5 separate regions of the Homo sapiens genome follow, and all the other regions are linked to region 5. Evidence: promoter capture Hi-C in 16 types of primary human blood cells and fetal thymus (Javierre and others, 2016). All regions are on one chromosome and are shown on one strand. Each heading gives the region's core, a stretch centred on a gene start or on the middle of the fragment in contact. The rest is flanking DNA. Distances are from core to core; before and after follow the strand shown.

Evidence for each region. The method cuts DNA at HindIII sites, captures the fragments that hold promoters and counts their contacts. A CHiCAGO score of 5 or more calls a contact.
Region 1: a fragment that was not itself captured here is called in contact with the fragment with the promoter of GAL3ST4 in region 5 in 14 of 17 cell types (total B cells, naive B cells, activated CD4 T cells and 11 more); the score reaches 13.7 in total B cells.
Region 2: a fragment that was not itself captured here is called in contact with the fragment with the promoter of GAL3ST4 in region 5 in 2 of 17 cell types (naive CD4 T cells and naive CD8 T cells); the score reaches 6.0 in naive CD4 T cells.
Region 3: a fragment that was not itself captured here is called in contact with the fragment with the promoter of GAL3ST4 in region 5 in 13 of 17 cell types (naive B cells, activated CD4 T cells, total B cells and 10 more); the score reaches 13.2 in naive B cells.
Region 4: the fragment with the promoter of AZGP1 here is called in contact with the fragment with the promoter of GAL3ST4 in region 5 in 13 of 17 cell types (neutrophils, total CD4 T cells, naive CD8 T cells and 10 more); the score reaches 14.9 in neutrophils.

What each region holds. Positions count from the first base shown.
Region 1 is chr7:100,368,589-100,373,602 of GRCh38, forward strand. It overlaps PILRA (paired immunoglobin like type 2 receptor alpha), which reads left to right and starts at 4,899. Exons shown (of 7, transcript NM_013439.3): 1 at 4,899-5,014. RefSeq lists an enhancer at 1,816-2,567. The HindIII fragment of the contact is 1,363 bases long and covers 2,699-4,061 here.
Region 2 is chr7:99,989,915-99,995,194 of GRCh38, forward strand. It overlaps the pseudogene LOC100128334. Among named protein-coding and RNA genes, the nearest start is that of AZGP1, 17 kb to the left of the region's middle. RefSeq lists an enhancer at 4,162-4,663. The HindIII fragment of the contact is 5,341 bases long and covers 626-5,280 here.
Region 3 is chr7:100,406,218-100,411,212 of GRCh38, forward strand. It overlaps ZCWPW1 (zinc finger CW-type and PWWP domain containing 1), which reads right to left. Exons shown (of 18, transcript NM_001386010.1): 9 at 3,211-3,327; 10 at 2,322-2,442; 11 at 1,011-1,086; 12 at 477-581. Among named protein-coding and RNA genes, the nearest start is that of ZCWPW1, 20 kb to the right of the region's middle. The HindIII fragment of the contact is 6,048 bases long and covers 1-4,995 here.
Region 4 is chr7:99,973,604-99,979,051 of GRCh38, forward strand. It overlaps AZGP1 (alpha-2-glycoprotein 1, zinc-binding), which reads right to left and starts at 2,428. Exons shown (of 4, transcript NM_001185.4): 1 at 2,342-2,428. The coding sequence starts at 2,417. The HindIII fragment of the contact is 13,516 bases long and covers 1,076-5,448 here.
Region 5 is chr7:100,166,148-100,171,715 of GRCh38, forward strand. GAL3ST4 (galactose-3-O-sulfotransferase 4) reads right to left here and starts at 2,470. Exons shown (of 4, transcript NM_024637.5): 1 at 2,399-2,470; 2 at 824-1,136; 3 at 355-658. The coding sequence starts at 948. It overlaps GPC2 (glypican 2), which reads right to left. Exons shown (of 10, transcript NM_152742.3): 8 at 5,392-5,531; 9 at 5,114-5,289; 10 at 3,459-4,336. The coding sequence ends at 4,083. RefSeq lists a silencer at 5,316-5,535. The HindIII fragment of the contact is 24,826 bases long and covers 1-5,568 here.

The sequences.
Region 1 (5,014 bases), core at 2,130-4,629, 200 kb after region 5:
TATTATAGGGCCTGGCGCCATGGCTCATGCCTGTAATCTCTGTGCTTCAGGAGGTTGAGGGGGGAGGTTCACTTGAGCACAGGAGTTTGAGACCAACCTGGGCAACATAGCGAGACCCCGTCTCAAAATAAAGATATAGGATATTACAAAGGATAGTTATGAACAGCCAGATATAAGAGATACACAGAGGGAGGCCTGGGGGAAGGGGTGCAAAGCTTCCGTGTCTTCTCTAGGCACTGCACCCTCTAGGAAGCTCCATGAGTTCAGTTATCCAGAAGCCCTCTGCATCCCTTTTGGGTTTTTATGGGCTTCATTATAAAGGCATGATTGGGCCAGGCACAGTGGCTCATGACTGTAATCCCAGCACATTTTGAGGCTGAGGTGGGAGAATCAATTGAGCCCTCAGGTGGCAACTGAGGCTGCAGTGAGTTGTGATTGCACCACTGTACTCCAGCCTGGGTGACAGAGAGAGAGCCTGTCTCAAAAAAAAAAGACAAAACAAAAAACCTGGCCAATACGGTGAAACCCCATCTCTACTGAAAATGATCGTCACCTGATCCCCACCCCTTGAAGATGCCTCCACCCTCTCCATACGCATTTGGTCAGCACTAACTGCCCTGGGTGACAGGCACACTGCACTGGGTGACAAGGACCCAAAGCTACACCAGCCAGTGCCCCAGCCCTCAAGCACCTCCCTGTGCAGAAGGAAGACAACACAGAAAAGGGAAGCATGGTTGTCACAGAGGCCCAGAGGACTGCTGGCTGATGTCACTGAATGGGGAAGTGGTTGGCCGCACAGGCCCCAAGCTCAGACCTGATGCCACAGTGGACGTTCCTGGGCCATGTGACCTCAGGCTAGGCTCAGAACCACCCTCAGGGCCTCCGTTTCTTTCTGTATAAATTGAGGACCATACAGAGATGCTGCCTACCTCCTGGGATTGTCCAGAGAGTTAAAAGCTCTTTTAAAATGCGCCTGCTGGGCCAGGCACAGTGTCTCACACCTGTAATCCCAGCACTTTGGGAGGCTGAGGCAGGCAGATCACAAGGTCAGGAGGTCGAGACCAGCCTGAACAACATAGCAAAGCTCCATCTCTACTAAAAATACAAAAAGTAGCCGGGCGGGCATGGTGGCACGTGCCTGTAATCCCAGCTACTCAGGAGGCTGAGGCAGGAGAATCACTTGAACTCAGGAAGTGGAAGTTGCAGTGAGCCGAGATTGTACCATTGCACTCCAGCCTGGGTGACAGAGCGAGACTCCGTCTCAAAAAATAAAAATAAATCAAATGCACCTGCTGGCAGGGCGCGGTGGTTCATGCCTGTAATCTCAGCAACTTTGGGAGGCCTAGGCAGGTGGATCACCTGAGGTAAGGAGTTCAAGACCAGCCTGGCCAACATGGTGAAACCCCATCTCTGCTAAAACTACAAAAATTAGGTGAGCATAGTGGTGGGCACCTGTAGTCCCAGTTACTCGGGAGGCTGAGGCAGGAGAATCGCTTGAACCTGGGAGGCAGAGGTTGCAGTGAGCCGAGATGGTGCCACTGCACTGCAGCCTGGGCGACAGAGTGAGACTCCGTCTCAAAATAATAATAATAATAAAACAAAATGCACCTGCCATTTCTTTCCATCAGGTATGGCCATGGAAATGAGGGTCATAAGGGAAGCAGTGTATCCTCACAGATCCCCAGAAACGAGAGACACAGCCATGCAGGGCCACTTGGGAAAGCACCAGGGTCCCTCAGGGAGTAGAGGAAGCCAAGGGAACACAGGGGTGAGACCCTTTGTTATGCTTTCCCTGGAAAAGGCAAGGAAGGGTATGCAGGTTTAGGATTGGCTAGTTAGAATAACGTTAGCAGGCTCTGGGGATTAGAGGCTGTCATTTGTTATTTGGTGTCTGGCCCAGGATGATGAAGGCAGAGAAATACTGCCTTCTGAAGGGTGAGAGGCAGCTAGAAGAGCTGGTTCAGTGTTGGGGCCCTGGATTAGCTGGTTTGCATATGAAAGGCACACTCAGCCAGGAGCCGTGGCTCAAGCCTGTAATCCCAGCACTTTGGGAGGCCGAGGTGGGCAGATCACAAGGTCAGGAGATGGAGACCATCTTGGCCAACGTGGTGAAACCCCGTCTCTATTAAAAATACAAAAATTAGTTGGGCATGGTGGCACGCACTTGTAATCCCAGCAACTTGGGAGGCTGAGGCAGGAGAATCGCTTGAACCCAGGGGTGGAGGTTGCAGTGAGCCGAGACCGTGCCACTGCACTCCAGCCTGGCAGCAGAGTGAGACTGTTTCAGAAAAAAAAAGGGACACTCTCAGAGGGGTCATTTGCTAGCTCTAACAACTGGCTGGCTCTGGCAGGGGCAGTCCCTCTCTCTGCTCTTGGAGGTCCAAGATGCCAGAATATCAGCAATCCAGTGGGGCTTGGTGAGGTGGCTCACACCTGTCATCCCAGCACTGAGGGAGGCCGAGGCAGGAGGATTGCTTAAGCCCAGGAACTTGAGACCAGCCTAGACAACATAGTGAGACCCCATCTCTCAAAAAAAAAAAAAAATTAGCCGTGTGTGGTGGTGTGTGCCTGTGGTCTTCACTACTTGGGAGGCTGAGGTCAGCAAATTGCTTCAGCCCAGGAGTGATGGTGATCGCGTCCCTACACTCCAGTCTGTGGACACTCTAGTACCTTGAGGACAGTACAGCCTGATTACAGAAGCTTTACAGCAAGTCTTGAAGTCAGGTATTATAAATCTTCCACCTTCATTCTTCATTTGTAAAGGCCTTTTGGCTATTCTAGGTCCTTTGAATTACTGTGAGAATATTACAGTTGGCTTGTGAACTCCACAAAGCCTATGGGATGTCGATTGGGATCAGAGGAAAGCAGGAACGGTGGGTGCCAAGGAGAGGTGAGGGGCTGGGGGCAGGGACGGATGTGGCCAGTGAGGACAGTAGGATACTTGTTGGGGGAATGTGGGGACATCCAAGCAGTGGTTCTCATAATGCGGTGCAGGGTACTTACCCCCTCCCTGCCCCTGCTCCCCACACACGACTTCCCACGCCTCTCCCATGAGCACCTGCACTAAGGGGCTGCATTTAGGCTCTGCCCACATTGGAATCATGCCCTCCTCCAGGCCCTCCTCCTCCTCTCAGAAGCCCTGTCTGTGAGAGAGCCACAGCCCCAGGCTCAGTCCCAGGTTCTGTCACTGCTGTTGGGGGAGGGAGGATGAACAAATCCAGGAGACCTCACACCATCCCAGAGCAGAAATCCTGACACAGAAGGAATCTCCCATGGGGGTTCAGCTGGATCCAGGGCCTGAAAGTGACATAAACATGCATGTTGCATCTAAGGAGACTGCACGTGGCAGCATTGGGCAGCATGTGCCCTCCAGAGCTACCCAGAGGCTGTTGGCTATAAGTTCTATGTGGCCCCCACATTGGACAGCCTGGTAAGCAGGTGACCTTTCAGCCAGGTCCTCAGGTGGGGCGGGCCACCCTCTCGAGGCCCTGCCCAGACAGCCAGGGGGTCCCTTGTCCTCTCTGCAGCCCATCTTTCCAGCTGTGACCAGTTCAGCCCAAAGCCCCCGTCCCTCAGTTTCCCTGTGGGTTGAATGGAGATAATGTGTCACCTCAGAATGTTGTGAAGCAGAGAATGAGGTGTTTAGGGCCTGGCTCAGACGGAGGGGTTTCCTGAGCATGGGGAACCTGTTTCCTCAGGCCTGTAAAGGGAGGGAGGGCGGGCCGGCCTGGCTGGCCCTGGGAAGCACAGAGGAGCCTACTAGGACCAGGGAAGAGACTAAGAGAAGGGAGGCCCGTCCCTGCCTGCTTCTGTCTCAAGAAGGCTGATGTCACTTCCTCTGATGAAATCCTGTCTTCCCCCACGGCCCCTCAACTGATGCCACCTCACCCTGGAGAGGGTGGGCAGAGCCTCCTACGGAGGGAGCCCTGTGCACCACCAAAGCTCCCTGCTCCAGTGACCACCCCCGGGCAAAGGCCGGCAGATCCCCGTTAGAGATGGGCCCAGGACTGTGTGTGGGGTGGGTGTTGCTCTGAGCCTTCACTTTCTTCTGTGTCCAAGGAAGCTTCTGGATCAGCCAAGGGCTCAGGTGTGTGGAGGGAATGACCTGAGGGGCTGTATGAAGGGACAGCCTCCTGTCCTGCACTCAGAAGTTGAGGCCCAGAGATTCCACCCTTCAGCCAGGCCCAGACATCTGGGTTGAGGGGGCTCCAGTCCTGTACCCACTACTGCAAGTCACGTGGCCTGGGGCAGGGCTTCTCAGAGCCCTGTCCCCTCCTGTGTAGGGCGGGACGTCAGAGGGGAGCCTGCAGACCCAGTCTCATGTCTTGGGGGTCAAGGGGTGGCTTCCAGAAGGACCAGTCTCTGTGTAGGGGACCATTAGCCCCCTCACCCCTTGAGCAAGGTCGTGGTGCCTGCACCGAGAGAGGGCCTGGGGCAGGAAGAGGCCAGCTGGGTCGTGGTGGTGCCTGGGGACTGCATGGGAGCCCCTGCCAGGGAGGGAGAGGGACAGAGGACAAGCTGGGGGCTCTTCTGCTTGGGCTGGGGGCTGAGCACCTGTGACCTCCACCGGCTTCCTTCTCCTCCTCTCTGAGGACTGAATCTGGGGCGCAGAAGGACAGAGATTCAGGCCTGCCTTTCCTCTCCCTGAAAGAGCCTGCGCTGGCCCTGGGCAGAGAGAAGGATGAGAAGTGAGGCTGAGTGAGGTGGGGTCTGCAGGGATCCAGGTGGGAGGGGCCCAGCCAGCCAAGGTCAGGCCCAGCCCCCCAAGGTCAGGCCCAGCCCCTCGGCAGGAGGACGGGGACCGCGGCCTTTGGGCAGGGCTGACTTGGCACTGACCACAAGGGAGGCCCTTTTGCAATAGGGGAAAATAAGCCAGATGGATAAAGGAAGTGCTGGTCACCCTGGAGGTGCACTGGTTTGGGGAAGGCTCCTGGCCCCCACAGCCCTCTTCGGAGCCTGAGCCCGGCTCTCCTCACTCACCTCAACCCCCAGGCGGCCCCTCCACAGGGCCCCT
Region 2 (5,280 bases), core at 2,046-4,545, 180 kb before region 5:
AGCCAGGAGTTCCAGATCAGTCTGGGCAACATAGCAAGACCCTGTCTCTACATTTAAAAAAATAAAAAATTATCTGGGCATGGTGGCACACACTTGTAGTCCCAGCTACTTGGGAGGCTGAGGCAGGAAGATCACTTGAGCATGGGAGGTCAAGGCTGCTGTGAGCTATGATTGTACTATTGCACTCCAGCCTGAGCAACAGAGCAAGACCGTGTCTCAAAAATAAATAAATAAATACACATATTAATACAATAGGTAATTAATACATAATTTCTGGATGAATCAATAAATACGTAAGCAAAGGCAATAGAAAGCACTAAATATTTCTGACGACCACGAAGAACCTTTTGGCTGGGACAGTGAATTCTACTGGGAAAGAAGTTTGAAAAAGCAAAGCTCAGAGAAATTGAAGAGGACCTTAACATATGTATACCTTGCTATATCTGATTGATGTCTTTTGCCTGATTCAGTGTGCATCATTCCTCCAGCCTACCTGGGAACTATCCCCAGGAGAGTCCACCAGAGAGAGACAAGATAGTCTAAGGCAGGGGTCCCCAACTCCCGGTACCCGTTCATAGCCAGTTAGGAGCCGAACCACGCAGCAGAAGGTGAGCTGCAGGGTCGAAGCTTCATCTGTATTTACAGCTGCTCCCCCACCCCCCGACCATTGCTCCAATTACCGCCTGAGCTCACCTCCTGTCAGATCGGCAGCAGCATTAGACTCTCACAGAAGCACGAACCCTATTGTGAACTGTGCAAGAAAGGTATGTAGGCTGCCCGCTCCTTATGAGATCTAACGCCTGATGATCTGTCACTGTCTCCCATCAACCCCAGATGGGACCATCTAGTTGCAAGAAAACAAGCTCAGGGCTCCCACTGATTCTACACCGTGGCGAGTTGTAGAATTATTTCATTATATATTACGATGTAATAATAATAGAAATAAAGTGCACAATAAACGGGATGCACTGGAATCATCCCAAAACCATTCCCCTCCCCAGTCCGTGGAAAAACTGTCTTCTACGGAGCCGGTCCCTAGTGCCAAAGAGATTGGGGACCGCCGGCTTAAACAAAGAGGTCTTTTTCTCAAGCAGGTTCCAATCAGCGCTAGGCCGGATTCGCTATGGCTTTTGCCTGCCCCCTAGTGGTCAAGGAAATAGTTGCAGCCAAGTGTTAGGATCCAGTCCTTGAGAATTTGGCTCAAAGCCTGGATGCAAAGGCCATGAGATAACGGTCATCCGGTCTTCCTCGCACAACTCACACAATTCTCGCCGTCTTTTTTTTTTTTAAGAGGGAATTTCACTCTTGTTGCCCAGGCTGGAGTGCAGTGGCGCGATCTCGGCTCACTGCAACTTCCAACTCCTGGGTTCAAGCGATTCTCCTGCTTCAGCCTCCCATGTAGCTGAGATTACAGGCGCCCGCCACCACACCCAGCTAATTTTTTGTATTTTTAGTAGAGACGGGGTTTCATCATGTTGGCCAGGCTGGTCTCCAACTCCTGACCTCAGATGATCCACTCGCCTCGACCTCCCAAAGTGCTGGGATTACAGGCATGAACCACGGCGCCCAGCCAATTCCTGCCTTTTATTATGGAGGAAAACCTCCGCGGGATTACAGCACACCCAGTGGACGTCTGTTACCTCATCGAACTTGGGTCCAACCACCGGGTGCTGCAAACACTGACATGTGGATTCCAGTGAGAGAAACTGAGGCATTTATTGCAGGGTGCCAAGCAAGGAGAATCAGCCAGCTCAAGTGTAAGACCTAAATTCCCCAATGGCTTGTAGGTAAGGGTTTTTAGAGGCAGAGAAGCAGAAGTTACAGGCAAAGTCATAAATCAATACATGGCCCGGCACAGTGGCTCACGCCTGTAATTCCAACACTTTGGGAGGCCAAGGCAGGTGGATCACCTGAGGTCAGGAGTTCAAGACCAGCCTGGCCAACATGGTGAAACCCCATCTCTACTAAAAATACACAAAATTAGCCAGCTGTGGTGGTGCACGCCTATAATCCCAGCTACTCAGAAGGCTGAGGCAGGAAAATCTCTTGAAGCCGGGAGGCAGAGGTTGCAGTGAGCAGAGATCGCGACACTACACTACACCCTAGGCGACAGAGCAAGACTCTGTCTCAAAAAATAAAAAATAAATCACTCATAACCTGGTGCAATGGTTCACACCTGTAATCCCAGCACTTTGGGAGGCCGAGGCAGGAGGATTGCTTGAAGTCAGGAGTTTGAGACCAGACTGGGAAACATAGCAAGACCCCATATCTATAAAAACATTAAAACTTAGCTGGGCGTGGTGTCATGCACCTGTAGTCCCAGCTACTCAGGAAGCCGAGGCAGGACGATTGCTTGAGCCCAACAGTTGGAAGCTGCAGTGAGCTATGATCACACCATTGTACTCCAGCCTGGGCAACAGAGGTCTTTAAAAACAAAAAATCAATAACGTGTAATAATCTTTTTTTAAAACTCCCTAACAGGATGTGTGGCAGGTTCCTGAGGTGGTGGCTGCTGGCGGAGGAGAGCTGGCACTCCACCCCCGTGGGGCGCCTCCTGTTTCCCGTGCTCCTGGGATTCCGCCTTGTGCTGCTGGCTGCCAGTGGGCCTGGAGTCTATGGCGATGAGCAGAGTGAATTCGTGTGTCACACCCAGCAGCCGGGCTGCAAGGCTGCCTGCTTCGATGCCTTCCACCCGCTCTCCCCGCTGCGTTTCTGGGTCTTCCAGGTCATCTTGGTGGCTGTACCTAGCGTCCTCTACATGGGTTTCACTCTGTATCACGTGATCTGGCACTGGGAAGAATCATGAAAGGGGACGGAGGAAGAGGACACCCTGATCCAGGGAGGGGAGAGCAGCAGAGATACCCCAGGGGCTGGAAGCCTCAGGCTGCTCTGAGCTTATGTGGCTCAGCTGGGAGCTCAGCTGGTCCTGGAGGGGACAGCGCCGGGGTTGCAGTACCACCTGTATGGGTTCCAGATGCCCAGCTCCTTTGCATGTGGCCAAGAGCCTTGCCCGTATAGATTAACTTGCACCTTTTCCCACCCCTCGGAGAAGATCATCTTTCTAAAAGCCATGTTTGGGGTCAGTGGGTTCCGTCTCTTGTTCACTCTTTTGGAGATTGTGCTTCTGGGTCTGGGAAGACTGTGTAAGCCCCTGCGGAACTTCCTGGGTGGGGCCTCTTCCTCCAGCCACGCCCTGGCCCTGAGCAGCAAAAGGAACCTCCAGCAGACACTGTGAGCCATCCATCGGCCTGGTCAGCCTTGTTCCATTTCAGAGACCATGTTCCCCACAGCCCCAGTGACTAGGGGTGACATCTCCTGACCTCCCCCACCTGTGGATATGGCCAAGTCGAGGTACCGGTTAACCAAAGATGCTGAAGGAGTGAAGAACCAGCCATCCCCTAATACGCAGGATGGTTATATTGATTATGTCAAACTGAAAACTTTGGAGAAACTCCTCTCTCAGAAAGCGATAACTGGGCCAGACACGGTGGCTCATGCCTGTAATCCCAGCATTTTGGGAGGCCTAGGCAGGTGGATCACTTGAGGTCAGGAGTTCAAGACCAGCCAGGCCAACATGGTGAAACCCGTGTCTACTAAAACTACAAAAATTCTGGGCATGGTGGTGGGCGTCTGTAATCCCAGCTACTTGAGAGGCTGAGGCAGGAGAATTGCTTGAACCTGGGAGGTGGAGGTTGCAAAGAGCCGAGATCATGCCACTGCACTCCAGCCTGGGTGACTCCGTCTCAAAAAAAAAAAAAAAAAAAAAAAGTGCTGGTGTTCCTTAGGACTGTGTTGCGGGCCCTCTCTCTCCCCATTCCACACCCTCACTCTCCCTGGATAACTTTCCCTTTGTCTATAGCTCCAGCCACCACGTCCTTGCGGATGACTTCCCAGTGCAGATCCCCAGTCTGGGCTACCTCTCGAGTTCAGGCTTGAAATCCTGTCGTTCGGCCAGGCACGGTGGCTCACGCTGTAATATCAGCCCTCTGGGGGTCGAGGCGGGCAGATCACCTGAGGTCAAGTGTCTGAGACCAGTCTGGCCAACATGGTGAAACCCCGTCTCTACTAAAAATACAAAAAATTACAGGCATGCATGGTGGTGCGTGCCTATAATCCCAACTACTTGGGAGGCTGAGACAGGAGAATCGCTTGAACCCTGGAGGCAGAGGTTGCAGTGAGCCGAGATCGCACCACTGCACTCCAGCTTGGGCGACAGAGACTCTGGTCAGATGCCTCCTAGGCTCAGGCACCTGCTCTGGGAGCAGTGGGCTCCTCTGCATCCTTGAGCACCTAATCTTTATGTGCAGGATCATAAAACACACCGTGCGGATCAGTGTCAGATTTCCTTCTTAAGCTAATAGAACAGAATGCAGCTTTCAGGATTCAGGAAAGATTTTTCTGCACAGGCAAGTCAGTTGCAGTCGCGTGTTATTGCCACCAGAGGACACAATGATCCTGCTAACATGATGAAAGACTCTCCCAGCGGATTTAATAACAATCTTAGCAATTTTTTATTTATTTTTTTTTTCTTGCTCCGTCGCCAGGCTGGAGTGCAGTGGTGCCATCTCGGCTCACTGTAACCTCCGCCTCCCGCCTCCTGGGTTCAAGCGATTCTCCTGCCTCAGTCTGCCGAGTAGCTGGGATTACAGGCGCGCACCAACATGCCCGGCTAATTTTTGTATTTTTAGTAGAGACGGGGTTTCACCATATAGACCAGGCTGGTGGGTGATCCGCCCATCTTGGCCTCCCAACGTGCTAGGATTACAGGGGTGAGCCACCGCGCCTGGCCTTAATCTACTTTTTATATCTGTGGTTTTGCCTTTCCTGGTCATTCCATCTATGTTGAATACTACAATACGTGGCCTTCTGTGCAAGGGCAATTGGTTCCATGCTTAGTCCCACCAGATGATAGATGTTAACCAATATTTACTGATAAGTTGGGGCCTCTCCGACAAGGAGACCAATGAGGCTGTCTCCTTCAAAAGCATCTCAGCTCTGTCTTGGAGCTTTGAGTTGAGAGTTTTTTTTTCAAGCCAGATTTTACGTCGTTCCCAGACACATTCACAAGCCTTGCTGGACCAAAGAAAAAAAACGAGTTAGCCTGGGCACAGCGGCTCACACCTGTAATACCAACACTTTGGGAGGCCAAGATGGGTGGATGGCTTGATGCCAGGAGTTCGAGACCAGCCTGGTCAACATAGCGAGACCCCCCATCTCTAAAAAATAAAATAAAGTACATATACCAGCAATGATGTATAACCGAAAAATAAATAAATAAAC
Region 3 (4,995 bases), core at 1,581-4,080, 240 kb after region 5:
GCAATGGCTGGAGATAATTTTTTGGTTGTCACAACCATGGGCAGGGTGGAGGTGGGGGCTGCTGCTGGTTAGATGCCGCTGGAGCCTGGGGATGTTGCTAAACATCCCACGATGCACAGGACAGCCCTCCACAACCAAAAATTATCTCGCCCGAAATGCCAATAGTGCTGAGACTGAGAAATCCTGAGTTAATCTGTGCCCTCATTTCTGCCACACCTGCTTTGGCTAAACTGTAGAAAAAACCTCATCTTCAGAATGGCCCCCAATCTGTAGGCAGGGAAGGGGACTGAAAAAAAAAATTGCCCTGCTGCAGTCCTGGGAGCAAGAAGAGTCCTTCATGAATTACCTCACCCTTGGCACACCTGGTCAGACACAGAACTTTCTCCCGACATGGCTTACCCTGGGAGAAAATGAGGTTTAAGAAAAGGAAGATTTTGTTTTCTCTGTATCACAACAGAACCCCAAGATGTGCTCACCATGACTGATAGCTCCAGGGACAGCTCCTGGAAGTTCTTTAGCATGTTGACTGGGATCCATGCACGAGAAACTGTTTCTCCAAAAAACGTCACATGGTACTTAGACTGAAATAAAAGATGATCCTGTTACGGACTCCTGTCCTGCTCCCTGCTTTTCTCCTCTAGCCAGAACAGATCGGGAGAATGGGAATTCACCCAGAAGGAGGTGCTGGGCCTCACATACTCCTTTCAAAGCCTGACTCATCTACCCTACCCTCGTTGCAATTGTTCTTCCATTCTAACCTCAGGAATCCTAGCCAAAGCGTATTTATCAAAACCACTAATGCCCTGACAGTGGATAAATATTTAATTAGATACAAGTTTGTTTCTATTATATGTGTGAGCACTTATCTCTGTGTTTGTCATCCTAGTTAAGTGTCTGTTTTCACTTGTGTCTGCTGGCTATGTCCATGTCTCTTATCTGTACGTCTGTGAGGATGGATTTGTTCATTACTTTGGCCTGAGCTCCTTCTTACCCTGAACCAGGAAACTCACCGGCAGGGAATCAAGATGGGAAGTAAAAAGAAAATATTCCCCTAAGTCAGGATCAGATTCTATCATGCCTGGCCACCTGGAGAAGATAGTTGGGTGTAGGGGACAGAAGAGAAGGGGTTAGATGAACAGAACACAACCTCATCAATGTACATGCACAGAGAAGAGCAGTATGATTTTTTTTCTGAGACAAGGTCTCACTCTGTCACCCAGGCTGGAGTGCAGTGTTACAACCATGGCTCACTGCAGCTTTGATCTGTCAGGCGCAAGTGATCCTCCCACCTCAGCCTCCTGAGGAGCTGGGACTACAGGCACATGCCACCACACCCAGCTGTTTATTTTATTTTTTGCAGAGATGGGGTCTCACTATATAGCCAGGACTGATCTCAAACTCCTGGGTTCAAGCAATCCTCCTACCTCAACCTCCCAAAGTGCTGGGATTACAAGCGTGAGTCACTGCGCTCAGCCAGCAGTATGCTTTGCAAAAAAAGGATCCAAAAAATAGATTCCCCTTCCATCATCCCCCTCTAGTGGTCACTACTGAATGACTCGTGAGAAAGTGACTTCCATCGATGCACACAGGAGCTCAGAATATACCTAGTGAAGGTATCTTACCCTTCTGAGCCATCCACAATCCTAAGAACAAAATCTTCGACTAGAGACATCTCCAAAGAAGAAACTATCCCACTTTTCCTTGTTCCCTTTACTTTGTCTCTCTCAATCTCAATATTTTTATTTATTTTTGAGATGGGGACTCACTCTGTCGCCCAGACTGGAGTGCAGTGGTGCAATCTTGGTTCACTGCAACCTCTGCCTCCCGGATTCAAGTGATTCTTCTGCCTCAGCGTCCTGAGTAGCTGGGACTACAGGCACGCGCCACCACGTCTGGCTAATTTTTCTATTTTTAGTAGGGATGGGATTTCACCATGTTGGCCAGGCTGGTCTCAAACTTGTGGTCTCAGGTGATCTGCCCGCCTTGGCCTCCCAAAGTGCTGGGATTACAGGTGTGAGCCACTGCGCCTGGCCAATCTCAATATTTTTAAATGCCTCAGATCCACCCTCTTCTTTCTACCAGTTGGGGTAGCACTATCAGACCCTTTTTTCCAGGGAGCTATCACCTCCATGCTGAAACCTCCAGAAAATACACTCTTTCAAAGCCTCCAGGCTTGGTACTTTATCTTTTCTCTCACCCCATGCTCTTTCTAAGGCCAGAACCATTTCAATTACAGATGTTTTCCATTTGCTTCCACCCCTGCTTGAATCTACCTCTCCCAAGTTTGTGAAGGATGCTCTGACTGTGTCATAATGCCCTACCAGGGGTAACCGTATTGCTTGGCCCAGATGATGGATCCTGGGATGTAGGAGGCATAGGCCACATCACTCTCAAGCCCTGTCCAGGTCTCCTCAGGAATATCACAGCGATTATACTGCACATCTGCTGAAAGAGAGAAGGAATGAAGGGACAGGAAGAGACTCTTTAAGAGAAAGAGCTGGATGAGAGCTGGGGAGAGAACAAGAAGGAAATTGGTATATGCAGCAGGTGGGACCAAAGGGGCACCTGGGAGATCAGCACAGAGGAAGAATAAAGACCCATGGAGGAAATGCAGCTGGAACCAGCTGAAATGCAGCTGGAACCAGCTGAAATGCAGCTGGAGGCAGTAGGAATGGTGCCTCCTCATACTCCAGGAAGAGATTCCACACTCCTGCTTGCATGCCCGCGTGTCTGACTGTGCTCCTGTCTATGGAGCACCATAAGAATAATTTCTCTGAGACTCTGTTTTCTCATCTGTAAAATAATTGGGCTGGACAAGATCATCATCATCTCTTCCAACTAGTTCCAAACAGCCTAGAATTCTAAGCGCACCAGATCTCTCTCGTCTGTTTTCCCCGATATATCCTATATCCCTCCCTATCCACCAACCCAATACCAATATTTTAATCAGGATTGACAGGGGCAGACCAATGCTCATGTATTTAGATTCCAGGCCCCTCCCCAACAAGATCACTTTACAGGGCATCTTCCTCCAGCCTTTTCTGCCCAGATTCATCTCCATATGAGAGGCAGATCCTTCCTCTCTCCCAAGCACTACAAGGACACTGAGTGCTAACTATATTTACGTAGTATTTAATCTAAAGGATAAGTGCAGAGAAAGAAAGGGAGGAACAATAAAACATGAATGAAAACATTTCCAGTCTTTTCTACCTGTGTTCTGATCACAGGACCAATTATCTGGGAGAACTGAGGGGTCAATGTTCCCACACAGCCGCCTCCATTTCCCACAGTTTGGGAAGGAACACTGGACCCAGACCAGACATTGACCTGTGAGAGGAAAAAAATGAAATAAGAGACTTAAAAATATGCTCTTCCTTCTTTAATCCAACTAAAATCAGGATAACCCTCCCAACTCCCAGAATGACATAGCCAGAGAGACATTAGAGATCAACCAGCCCGATCCCTGACTTATAAGAGGGAAACCAAGGCTCAAAGAGGTAACTGGCTTGCTGAGGATTAGCTAACTTGGCGATAGAGCTGAACTTAGAACTCAAGTCTCATGCCTTGATCTTTTTCCTGTACTAGGCTACCATGTCTCCCTGCCCCAAGGCTGAAAGGAATGTTTCTTGTATTGACAGTTCTTAAATTGAAAGGTTGCCTGGCATCTTTCCAGATAGTGCCTTGTTCTCTGCTGGCATGACACTACTGAAAAGTTCTTTTGAAGGGCTAACCTGCATCTCTTTTGTGCACAACATCCAGAGTTCTTATCCAAATCTCAACTGATTTACCTGTCACCAAATCACCAAGTTGCAAACTTTAGGACCAACAGTGTCTGAGTTCACTCTTCTCCAAAAGACACAGGTCTAAGCCTATCACTTCTCCATCAACTATTAACTCTGGGCCCTGCTCAAAGGCCAAGCCTTCCTTTTATCCATTACCTTCCAGACCCCCACCTCTCCTAAGCTGACCCATGTCCCTCAGCCTCTCCTCTCTCCCACCAAAACTCTTCCATTGTGGTCTTGGAAAGTCCATTGACTCGAGCAACAAAAGTCCACATATCCTCAACCTCAAATCTGAACTTCTATCTCCTTTCTGAAGCCTGGAGACCCACTAATGACACTGCCCCACCTAAACCACCCCCACCTACAACCCTGTAAGTGCAGTCAGTTCCTCTCACACTCCCCATGTCTCTTGGGACAGAAAGTCAGGCTGGCATTATCATTGCCCCATTGCTACTACTCTCCAACTCTTATAAAAACTTCCTCCCTTGAGGTCTATGCCATGGGACTATCCTCACCTCTCATCTCCCTTGTAGAGATGCTGGTATCTGATTCAGTCTTCTCTCCACCTCCTGCCTTCATTCCAAATGACCTCTACATCCACAGGAACTCCTCATACAGCACCCCATTATTTCAGTCCCTTGACTTTTTTCTTCATGTCACCTCTGGAACCCACTCCCACTCCTGCATGCCCCACCCAGTCATCTGCAGGAACTGCACACCCTCTGAGCCACTCATCCAAACATCCTATCTACAAAAATGCCCCGTCTTCCACCTCACTTGCTCAAAGACTCCTATAGCAACTTTCATTTTATCTAGCTCTCCAACCCACTGCCCACTACCATCCTCTCCATCTGGAAGCAACTTTCATTCTTCACTCTGTTCCACTCTGGTTTGATTACTTGACATTTACTTGGATTCTCTTGTAGACACCTTCAGCTCCCTTTCCCACTGTCGTTCTTCCCACCCAGGTGGCAAAACACCAACCAGAATGAACCCTCTCCACCTTTTCTGAGCCTACACTCAAGCAATTGAGTTGACAGAGAAAAATCACATAACAGACACATAGGTATCGCTATATATTCACTATTTATTTATCAACCAACATATTTCTCCAGTAAGTTCACTCTCTCCCACTGCCAAATTTTACCTTAAATACCTGATCATAAAGGATGGCTCCTAATCCCATCCCTCCAGAATCATCCCTCAGAAAAGT
Region 4 (5,448 bases), core at 1,178-3,677, 190 kb before region 5:
AGTGACTCCAGTGAATAATAATTTAACTGGGGCCAGGTGTGGTGGCTCATGCCTGTAATTCCAACACTTTGGGAAGCTGAGGCAGGTGGGTCACTTGAGGTCAGGAGTTCGAAACCAGCCTGGCCAACATGGTGAAACCCCATCTCTACTAAAAATACATAAATTAGCCGGGCGTGGTGGCACACACCTGTAGTCCCAGCGACTCAGAAGGCTGAGGCAGGAGAATCGCTTAAGCCCGGGAGGCAGAGGTTGCAGTGAGCCAAGATTGCACCACTGCATTCCAGCCTGGGCAACTCTGTCACAAAAAAAAAAAAAAAAAGAAGAATGAATAAGACCTACTATTTGATAGCACAACAGGGTGACTATAGTCAATAATAATTTAACTGGGGCCAGGTGTGGTGGCTCGTGCCTGTAATTCCAGCACTCTGGGAGGCTGAAGTGAGTGGATCACTTGAGGTCAAGAGGTCAAGACCAGTCTAGCCAACATGGTGAAACCCTATCTCTATTAAAAATACATAAGTTAGCCGTGTGTGGCAGTGTACACCCGAGGCAAGATAATTGCTTGAACCCAACAGGCGGAGGTTTGCAGTAAGCCAAGATCACGCCACTGCACTCCAGCCTGGGTGACAGAACAAGAATCCATCTCAAAAATAATAATAATAATCATAATTTAATTGTACACTTTTAAATAACCAAAAGAGAGGCCAGGCGCAGTTGCTGACACCTGTAATCCCGGCACTTTGGGAGACCAAGGCGGGCAGATCACGAGGTCAGGATATCAAGACTAGCCTGGCCAACATGATGAAACCCGTCTCTACTAAAAATACAAAAAAATTAGCCAGGTGTGGTGGCAGGTGCCTGTAGTCCTAGCTACTCAGGAGACTGAGGCAGGAAAATTGCTTGAACCTGGGAGGCGGAGGTTGCAGTGAGCCGAGATCATGCCACTGCACTCCTGCCTGGGTGACAGAGTGAGACTCTGTCTCAAAAATAAATAAATAAATAAATAATCAAATACTTTTAAAAACTAAAATAACCAAAAAAGTATAATTGGATTGTCTGTAACACAAACGATAAAAGCTTGAAGGGATGGATACCTCATTTTTGATGATGTGATTATTTCACATTGCATGCCTGAATCAAAACCTCTCATGTACCCCATAAATATATACACATACTATGCACCCACAGTTTTTTTTTTAATTTACAAAAAAATCAGTAGACCTTGAGTAAAGTGGATTACTCTCCATAGTGGTGGGCTTCATCCAATCAGTTGAAGGCCTTAAGAGAAAAAGCCTCAGATGTCCCCTAAAGAGGAAAGAATTCTGCCTACAGTCTGCCCTTGGAATCAAGACTAAGACATCAACTCTTCCCTGGGTCTCCAGCCTGCTGGCCGGCTCTGAAGATTTAGGACTTGTTACTCCTCCCAATAGTGTGAGTCAATTTCTTAAAATAAATCTCTACTCTCTCTCTCTTTTGTATACATATATGTAAATCTCTTCCTATGTGTGTGTGTATCCATGTGTATACAGTGTATGTATGTATGTGTACGTACATATATATGTATATGTGTACCACCTATTAGTTCTGTTTCTCTGGAGAACCCTGAGTAATTCAGATTTTGGCACAGAATCAGATTAACATTCCAAAGTGATTGTTATATAACAAACATATAACACCTTTTCTGACAATTTGTAAATGTCATGAATTTTAAACTCACACAACTGAGAAGCCATTCGCTTCCATGTCTTTATCCTGCACATTCTCATGCCACAAACAGCCTCCTTCCCTTATCCTAGGAGTGACTCTTGATCTCCCGGAGCTCCCACTCTCTTCTCTTCCAGCCACTCGCCTTCCAGACCCACTGCAGTGGTGTCTGAGTGTGGGATTTGGGCACGGGTTTCCTTCTAGCACCATCCCTCCAGCCAACCTGCCTTCCCACTTTCCCCTTGGGGCTGCTCTCTCTTTCCCTCAGCGTCAGGCAGGTGTACCCAGCCATCGGAAGGAGGGAAGGAACAGGAGCAGAAGCAGCTCCAGGCATATGGTTCCTACTCCGTCCTGACTGTCTACCCCAAGCAGGTCGCTTGGTCTTTGGAGTCTTTGTTTTCACTGTAAACTAGGGGTTTTAGATTCAGATTCCTGAAGGTCTTATTTCGGGCCAGCGCAGAGGCTCCCTGAATGCTCCTGGAAGTGTGTGAGCTGAGGGAGTTGACAGCCTTGGGCACCCATTCCTGCCGTATGCCAGGGTATCCCAGCTGCATCCAGCCTGTCTCCCAGCCACATGTCCTGTTCCTCACCTCCTTCCAGTCCTCTCCAGCACCCATCCCTTGCTTTCCCCACTCACCATCTTGGTTCTCCTGGGGGACAGCAGGACCCAGAAGCAGCAGCAGAGACAGCAGGACAGGCACCATTCTTACCATTGTGTCTGCTTGGAGGGTTCTGGGCAGGAGGCACAGATATTATCCTGGGTCCTGGGGCCCTGCCCAGGGGAGGTGAATCTACAGGCCAATGGGAGTGCCAGGACGGGCTCCTCCCCTAATAGAGAAAAAAAAATGATACACAAGCTAGGCTGGGCAGAGGTTATGAAGAATGAATCTACACACAGGATATGCAAATTCAGAGCTGAGTCCAGAGTTGATCTCTGGACTGAGGCTTTGTGTGTGCCTGGGGTGGAAGGATGCCAGTGGGTAGGAGGTGCGTGTGATGGGTGGCAAGCGCCTGGGATGTGTCACCCTTCCAGTCTATTGTGACAACCCCTGGGCCAGTAGGGGCATTTGTGTGTTTTTGGACCACACTGTATCCCTGCCTTCCAGAAAAACTCTCAACATGTCCAAGACATGGACCTGGGTAGACCCCAGCTGGGGTGGGACCCTCACTCTCCCACATCCGATCCTGCCAGAGGCTGTGTCTGGAGGACAGTCACATTCCCATCTCTCCCTCCTTCCTTTCTGTGCCTGTGGAATCCCAGCCTTCCATGATGGAAGCAGAAATAGCCGCATCCTCCTTTTGCAGCCTCCCTGGCAACAGAACGAGCCTCCCAAAATGCTGGGATTAAAGGCGTGAGCCACCACGCCCAGCCAAGATAATTTTTAATGCATACAACAAGACTCGTTTTACACAGACGAAGCCAGTTATTTGAAAACCAGGTCTTTCCAGGCACGCTCAGTGTTGATGGGCTATTTGCAGAGAGACCCTCCGAATACAAAGCAACATGCTATTCTAAAGTGACTGGGGCCCGGGTGCGGTGACTCATGCTTGTAATCCCAGCACTTTGGGAGGCTGAGGTGGTTGGATCACCTCAGGTTGAGGTCAGGTACTCGAGACCAGCCTGGGCAACATGATGAAACCTCGTCTCTACTGAAAAAATACAAGAATTAGCTGCGCGTGGTGGCACATGCCTATAATCCCAGCACTCAGGAAGCTGAGGCAGGGGTTTCACCATGTTGGCCAAGCTGGTTTTGAACTCCTGACCTCGTGATCTGCCCGCCTCGGTCTCCCAAAGTGCTGGGTTTACTAGTGTGAGCAACTGTGCCCAGCCTCTCTTTTGGTTAAAGAAACCTACAAAGGGACCTTTTATAGTGACTTCAATTTTATGGAATAATTGTAATGCTCCTAAGGCCGTTGTGCTCCAAAGTCTAGCCGCAGGTATTGTTATTGATTGGGCTCCAAAAGGGCATTATTGGCAAGATTGCTCCAGCAAAAATACCTCATGCTCAGAGTTTAATTATTTGTTAGATTATGTAGAGGATGGATGGCAGTCATACAGGCTGAGACAATGGGTGTCCCCTTACCTATTTAAATGGATGGATGCAGGCATTACTCCTCCTAGACCAAAAATGATTCATCCCTTTGTTACCCCAGAACATCCTCAACTATGAAAATTAGCTGCAGCTATGACAGGAATAAGGATATGGAACACTACCTATCAACTCCTTCACACTAATACCAAAACACCCACATTCAACATCACCCTCATATCTGAACGGGTGATACCCATCAGGAGCTATGTCAAACCCCCTTACATGCTGTTGGTTGGAAATATAATTATCATTCCCAATACACAAACTATAGAATGTGATAACTGTAAGCTGTTCACGTGCATTGATGCTACTTTTAATCCCACTACAAGTACTCTCTTGGTAAGGGCTAGGGAGGGGGTATGGATACCAGTTTCTTTACATCGTCCATGGGAGTCTTCCCCCTCTATTCACATAGTCAATGAAGTTCTTAAAGGTATCCGCAAAAGAACAAAGAGATTTATTTTTACTCTTATTGCCATCATTGCAGGACTAATTGCGGTTACTGCAACAGCAGCAACTGCTGGAGTTGCCATCCACAATTCTGTTCAAACCGTTCAATATGTTGAATTGAAGCATGGCAGAAAAACTCCTCCAGACTTTGGAATTCTCAGGCTCAAATTGATCAAAAATTAGCTAATCAAATTAATGATCTCCGCCAAAGTGTAATCTGGCTGGGAGATATGAATTTGGAACACCGTATGCAATTACAGAGTGATTGGAATACTTCTGATTATTGCATAATGCCTTATGCTTATAATAAATATCAACATAGCTGGGAAAATGTCTCAAGACATTTAAAAGCCTGGGATGATAACTTAACCTTGGATATTTCAAAACTTAAAGAGCAAATTTTCGAGGATTCACAAGCTCATTTATCCACTGTTCCTGGCTCAGACATTTTTGAAGGCATAACTAAACAATTATCTGATCTTAATCCCTTTAAATAGATCAAACCCCTTGGAGGATCATTGTTGTCACTGGCATTATTAATATTGGTATGCTTACGTTGTCTCCTTTTAGCCTGCAGATGCCTCCAAGGAGTCCGAAAACAAATCCGAAGTCAACGACAAGCAATGATGGCGATGGCGATCCTAGTTAATAAAAAGGGGGGAGATGTGGGCGGCAAGCCATCCAGGTGCCAAGCCAAGAGACCGAGGGCATGAGTTGTTCCAGTATAATAAAATATATAAAACAACAAGAGTTATACTAGATCTAGATCATAGATATGATTATATATCAATATCATTAATCATTAGTTTTTTCCAAATTTATTATTCCAATATTATAATATTATAATAATCCTCCAATATTATAATTTATTCCAATATTATAATAATCTTCGCTGCATAATCATAACCTAAGAAAAACCAGGCCATACAGAGATAGGAGCTGAGGGGACATAGTGAGAAGTGACCAGAAGACAAGAGTGCGAGCCTTCTGTTATGCCCAGACAGGGCCACCAGAAGGGCTCCTTGGTCTAGCAGTAACGCCAGTGTCTGGGAAGACGCCCCTTGCCGAGCGGACGGTGGTCTAGCGGTAGCCTCAGTGTCAAGGAAAACACCCGCTACTTAGCTGACCGGGAAAGGGAGTCTCCCTTTCCTTGGGGGAGTTTAGAGAAGACTCTACTCCTCCACCTCTTGTGGAGGGCCTG
Region 5 (5,568 bases), core at 1,220-3,719:
AGTAAGACCCTGTCTTCCAAAAAATAATTTAAAAACAGAAGAGTAAGGGGCACCTGGAGGGAGAGTTGGGGGCTCAGAGTTGGCAAGGCACTGATGCCAGGGAAATACATTGGTGAAAGAGAGAGACTGGAGTAAGCGCCAGAGAGAGAAGGGAGGAGGACTTGGGCTCCCAGAAACTACTGGGGAAGGGACACCTGTAGAGAGGATGGCAGGGAGCCCAACTTTGTGGCCCCTATGTCCAACTTTAGGGTGAGATGATGCCTGGGGAGCCCCCAGGTCTGGGCCCCCTCCCTTGGTGGTGTCAGCCTGAGCCCATCTGTTTCTGGTCCCTCCCACCACTGCGACACTCCTTACCTCTTTCAGGTTGAACCTCATGTGGTGACAGAGGATGTGGAAGGGGAGCTGGGTGCCTCCACCCTGTGGGCGGTAGCCTTTTACCCTAGAGGCCTGGAAGAGCTTTGGGTAGCCAAACTGGTAGCGGGCAGGGAGGGCGAAGCGCAGCCCGTGCTGGTCCCCATAGCGGTGAAGCAGGCTCAGCACAGAGCTGCTCCCGGATTTATGTGTCTTCAGGAACACCAGTCGCTGCCGGGGTGGGCAGGACGGAAGGGCTGGTCGTAGGGATGGGGCCGAGGGCTGTCGGAGCTGTAGCCCAGGTAGCCTGGGAAGAGATGGAGGGGGAGTGTCCTGTTCCTCAGCAGCAAATGGGTAGAAGGGACAGAGGGCATGGAGGCTTCTGAGTCCTCAGGAGTCACCAGCCCCAGGTGGGATGGGGAAGAGCAAGTACGGGGCGTCTAGAAGGAGTTGGGGCAAAGTGGGAACTCACCTCCTCTGGAAGGGCCCTCCCAAGAGCTGGAGTGCAAAGCCAATGGTCATGAAGACTCCCAGAGCCACCCCCAGGCTCCGAGGTCCCCAGAGCCGCAGCGTCCTGGCAGGAGAGAGAGGGCCCATGTGGCACAGGGAAGGGTGAGGTGACAGAGAGATGGAGCCAGGGCCAGGAAGAGGGGCAGAGACAGCTGGAGACAGCCGTGCAGCTGCGGAAGGCACTGGTTGGAGATCGGGGGGTCATTCCCCAGGCCTGCTCACAGTCTTGGTTGAGTCTGCCCCCTGAGTTAGCAGATTTTTGCCTCTGTCAGCGTCTAGAAGGGAAATGAGGGGGGAAGAAGGGAAGTCTAAGGAGAGAGGCAGAGGCAGCCTTCTCTCCTGCTGCAGCTGAGACCTCCTTCAGGGAAGGGGAGTGGCTGGGGATGTTGTCTATACCCAGACTCTCCTAGGTGGCCCCACAACTACTGTCTCTGCTCTATCACTTTCTTATCTCCAGTTCCTCCCGCTCCCCACCTACAGTTGTCCCTGAGCCTTGGGGATTTATAAGGGAAGGAGAGAAAAAGCCCCAGCTCGTGAATGAAACAGCCAGCAAGAGAGAGAGAGATCAGATCAATCAGCTCATTAACACAGTCAGGTCAGACCATGGTCGGGAACCTGGTTTCCTCCAGAGCCCCTCTGGCTGTCACAGATGGGGATAAAGAGCCCTATCCCAGGACCAGGAAGGGAAGCCATACAGTGGGAATGAGGATCAGACAGGACACAGGTGTATGAACCCAGGCAGGAGGAAGGGAGGTTGGACTTCCAGGAGTGGCATTGCAATGGGTAAGAGCCATTGGGTTATAAATTCCCGCGCCTCTTTTTTCTCTGTCTCAGCACGGGGCAGACCCCCATGTATGACAGGGGCTGGGGGAGACGTGTGGCTACTTATAAAGCCCAGATCCCTGGACTTACCCACCATTCCACTTTCCAACCTTATCAGTGCACCCGGAGGAGACTGAAAGGGTGGGGCTGGAGAGGGAGACAGAAAGAGAGAGAGACACACACACACACACACACACACACAGAGAAACAGAGAGAGAGAGACAGAGGGACAGAGAGACTATGACACAAAGATAAGGAGAAAGGCGCAAACACTAACTGCAGAGTTCCTTCTGAAGCCCGAGCTTCCTAATCAACCGGGAGTCCAGCCCCGCCCCTTCAGATTACAACTCGCGATCAGGGACCACGGCCCCTCCAACAAGCCCCGACAGCTCCCTGCTCCGATGAGCCAGGGGTAACCCCAAGCAGAGAGAAGCCACACTTTTACTCCCGGAGACCTGCCCTCTCTGGCATCACTCCCCAATTCCCTCCCTGATCACAGCCCCTGGGGTCTAGCCGCGTCTCCCCTATCCAGAGTTCTTCATTTCCTTCCATCCATCTCTCCCTTCCCATGATTGGAGATCCCAGCCCTCTGTCCCCTCCAGCTTTGGTGACTGCCCAGTTGCCCCCGCTGGGGTTCCATGAACCCCTCATGTCTCCTCCCATAAATTAGAGGGTCCCTCCACTGGTCCTATCCTTGGTTTCACTTCCCACTCACCAGGCCACAAGGGGAGCAGCAAGGGAAATCGGGCCGGGCCCTCCCGCCCATCCCAGCCACCGCCCGACTCTTGGCTCAGCTCAACTTTCCCCAAGAACTTTCTCAGCGCCCAGGCTCCTCCCTCCTCCCTTTGTGCCGCCAGCCCCAGCAGCTGCTGCAGCTTTGATCGCGGTTCTAGGTCTCTCCCTCGCTGCATCTTCCCCTCTTCGGCAGGGCACCCAGACTCCTCTTGGAAGACACCACTTCCGCCCCCGCTTTCACACTTGGGAATCAATCCTACCATTTTCTCTTGGCTTGCCGCAGAACAAAAGATTCATTCAGGCGGTGGAAAGAAAGAAGGAAGGAAGGAGAAAGTGATATTTGAAAGCAGACATTGTCAAGGACGTGGCAAGGTAGCCAGAGACTGACACTCAGAGAACAAGGCCTCCCATCCTGAAGGCAGGGGGCAGTGGTGTGGTCACCTTAATAATGCTTCGTGGCCGGGTGCGGTGGCTCACGCCTGTAATCCCAGCACTTTGGGAGGCTAAGGCTGGTGGATCGCTTGAGGTCAGGAGTTTGCGATCAGCCTGGCCAACATGGTGAAACCCCGTCTCTACTAAAAATACAAAAATTAGCTGACTGTGGTGGCAGGCGCCTGTAATCCCAGCTACTCAGGAGGCTGAGGCAGGAGAATCATTTGAACTGGGGAGGCGGAGGTTGCAGTGAACTGAGATCGCGCCATTGCACTCCAGCCTCGCGACAACAGCGAGACTCTATCTCAAAAAAAAAAAAAAAAAAGCCTCATGTTCAAAGAGCATTTTGCAGGTGACAAGGTGCTTTTTCACACAGATTCTATTTGGTCCCCACAATTCTCCCTGTTGTACAAACGAAGATGCTCAGAGGCCCAGAGGGTGGGCAATTTGGAGATCAGAGGTTATTGTCTAGGCCCGCCTCCTGGGGGACAGGTGCCAAGGGAAGTGAAAAGCCGGCAGAAAATGAGCCAGTCACAGAGGCTCTGAGACCTCTGCTAGGAGCCAGGGCTCAGGCACTGATGGTGACAGCACAGAAGCCACACATGGGGTCCAATACATTACCATTTATTTGCAGAATAAACATGGACTCAAACACTGAAACATGGAGTTTGTGAAGGATGTGGGTGGCAGAGGTCACGAGATGAGCACCCCCCCACCTTGTTTTTTTTAAAATTTGGTTTAAGAAATTGATACTGAAAAAACTCAACAGAACCCAGGCCCATGAAGTCTCACATCCTACTCAAGCACCCTCAGTCCCCTGCCCTGCATCCAGCTGGTCCATTTCTGAGACCAGATGCCCCCACCCCTCCCCACTTCCAACTTCCTTCAAACCCCTTCCCCAGCTGCAACTCTAAACTCCTCATTTTCTCTGTTGGGGCTGATCACCAGCCCCAGCCTTAGAGGGCTAGAGACTATACCTTCTAAGGAAACCACACTCCCTCCTAAATAAATACCCCCAGGCCCCCCTCCCATTACCAAATGAAAAAATAAATATTGTGAACACCCACCCACCTCTGATGAAAATCTCCTGGATTTGGGGCCCCAGCCATTCACCTGCAAAGTCCCTTCTCTACCCTCTCTGCAGCCCCCTTCGACTCCTCCCCAGGCCCAGCTGAGGGGGGAGGAGGGGAAAGGGCCATGAACCCTTCTGATGCTAGGGCACCCCTCCCCCGTTATCGAGGTCCAAGCAGGGCCAGGGCTGAGAGGGAGAGAATGAGGATGGTTTGGGTGTGAAAACCAATAGATGCCCCCCCACTCCTGCTCCGGCCCTGGTTGTAGCGGGCACTGCCACCTCCTCCTTTGCCCCCAGAACCATCCCTTCTAGGAGGGTATGGAGGCCGAGGAGGCCGGGCTGGGGGAGCCACAGCCCCAGCCATCCAGTCATCTGCATACTGCTGTCCCCCTCCAGAGCCGCTGGCATCCTCATCTGCAAGGAAGAAGAGGGACAGAGCAGGATGGGAGGGAGAAGCAGAGGGAGACAGAGGGAGGAAAAGAAATTGAGATAAAAACAGAAAGAGAGAGGAAAGGGAGGGAGACACAGGTGGATGCCGGGTTGGGGAAGGGAGAAAGACCATGAGTGACAGGAAGGCAGGGAGAGAAGGAAGGAGAGAGATCCGACAGCAGACATGGGGGGAGAGATCATGATGGGAGACAGTGAGACAGAGAGAAAAAAAAACAAAACAGGCAGATGGGGAGAGAGGATAACAGGAAAAAACAGAAAAATCAGAAGTACACAGAAGCAGAAAGCAGCCAGGAAGAGGGGTGCGGGAAGAGTGACAAAGAGAGACAGAGACAGACAGATAGAAGGAGAGAAGAAAACAATGAGTGTCTGTGCCTTGCTTCTCTGTTTGGCAAACTCCACCCTGCGGAGCCAGCTCAATGTCACCCACCACCCTGGCTTCCCAGCCTCCCCCAAATTGCCCCCTCCCCCATTTTCCCACTGCCCTTTGCCCATTATAAGGGGCTTCCCACTGTTCTTTAAGAATGTTTTCGTGTCTCCCCTACTGGCCTGAAAGGATACAGACCCCCTCATTGATCTGTTACCCCCAGTCTTTCAGGGCAACGCTCAATAAATGCTCGTTGAATGAATTAGTGAATTAATCAATGAACGCTAAGAGCAGAGGCACGGGCGGGAACTACCAGGAGAGGGGAGAGGCTTCAGGGCAGTGGGCGGGGCTCAGGCTCAGGGATGCAGGGGTCTCACCCGCGTCCTGCCCGTCCAGGTCGTGTCCCAGTGCGGCCGTTTTCATTCTGGCCGTGGCCGCCCGGAGCTGTAGCCGACGCCGCCGTGTCGGGACATCGGGGCCCGAGGCGTCCACCTTGAGCTCGGGGTTGTTGACCTGCTCGGCCGGGGAGCCCCCGACCACTGGCGGCAAGTACCTGCGAGCAGAGCAGCCCCGAAGCGCCAGCTAGCGCGCGCGGCCCCGCCCCTCCCGGCCGCGGTCCCGCCCCCTGCTGCCCCCCGACGCCCCCGAGGCTCACCGGCCCCGCCCGGCTCCGGTCCAGCAGGGCGCCGCCTCCAGCGAGGCGTCCGCTGCCATGCGAGAGTCTCCGCACACCGTCAGGGACAGCCGGGCCCAGAAGCCCCGCATCCGGGCCAGACGCTCGCGGAGCTCCCACACCTGGGCGGGCGAGAGGGGGCGGGGCGAGCTGGAGCGC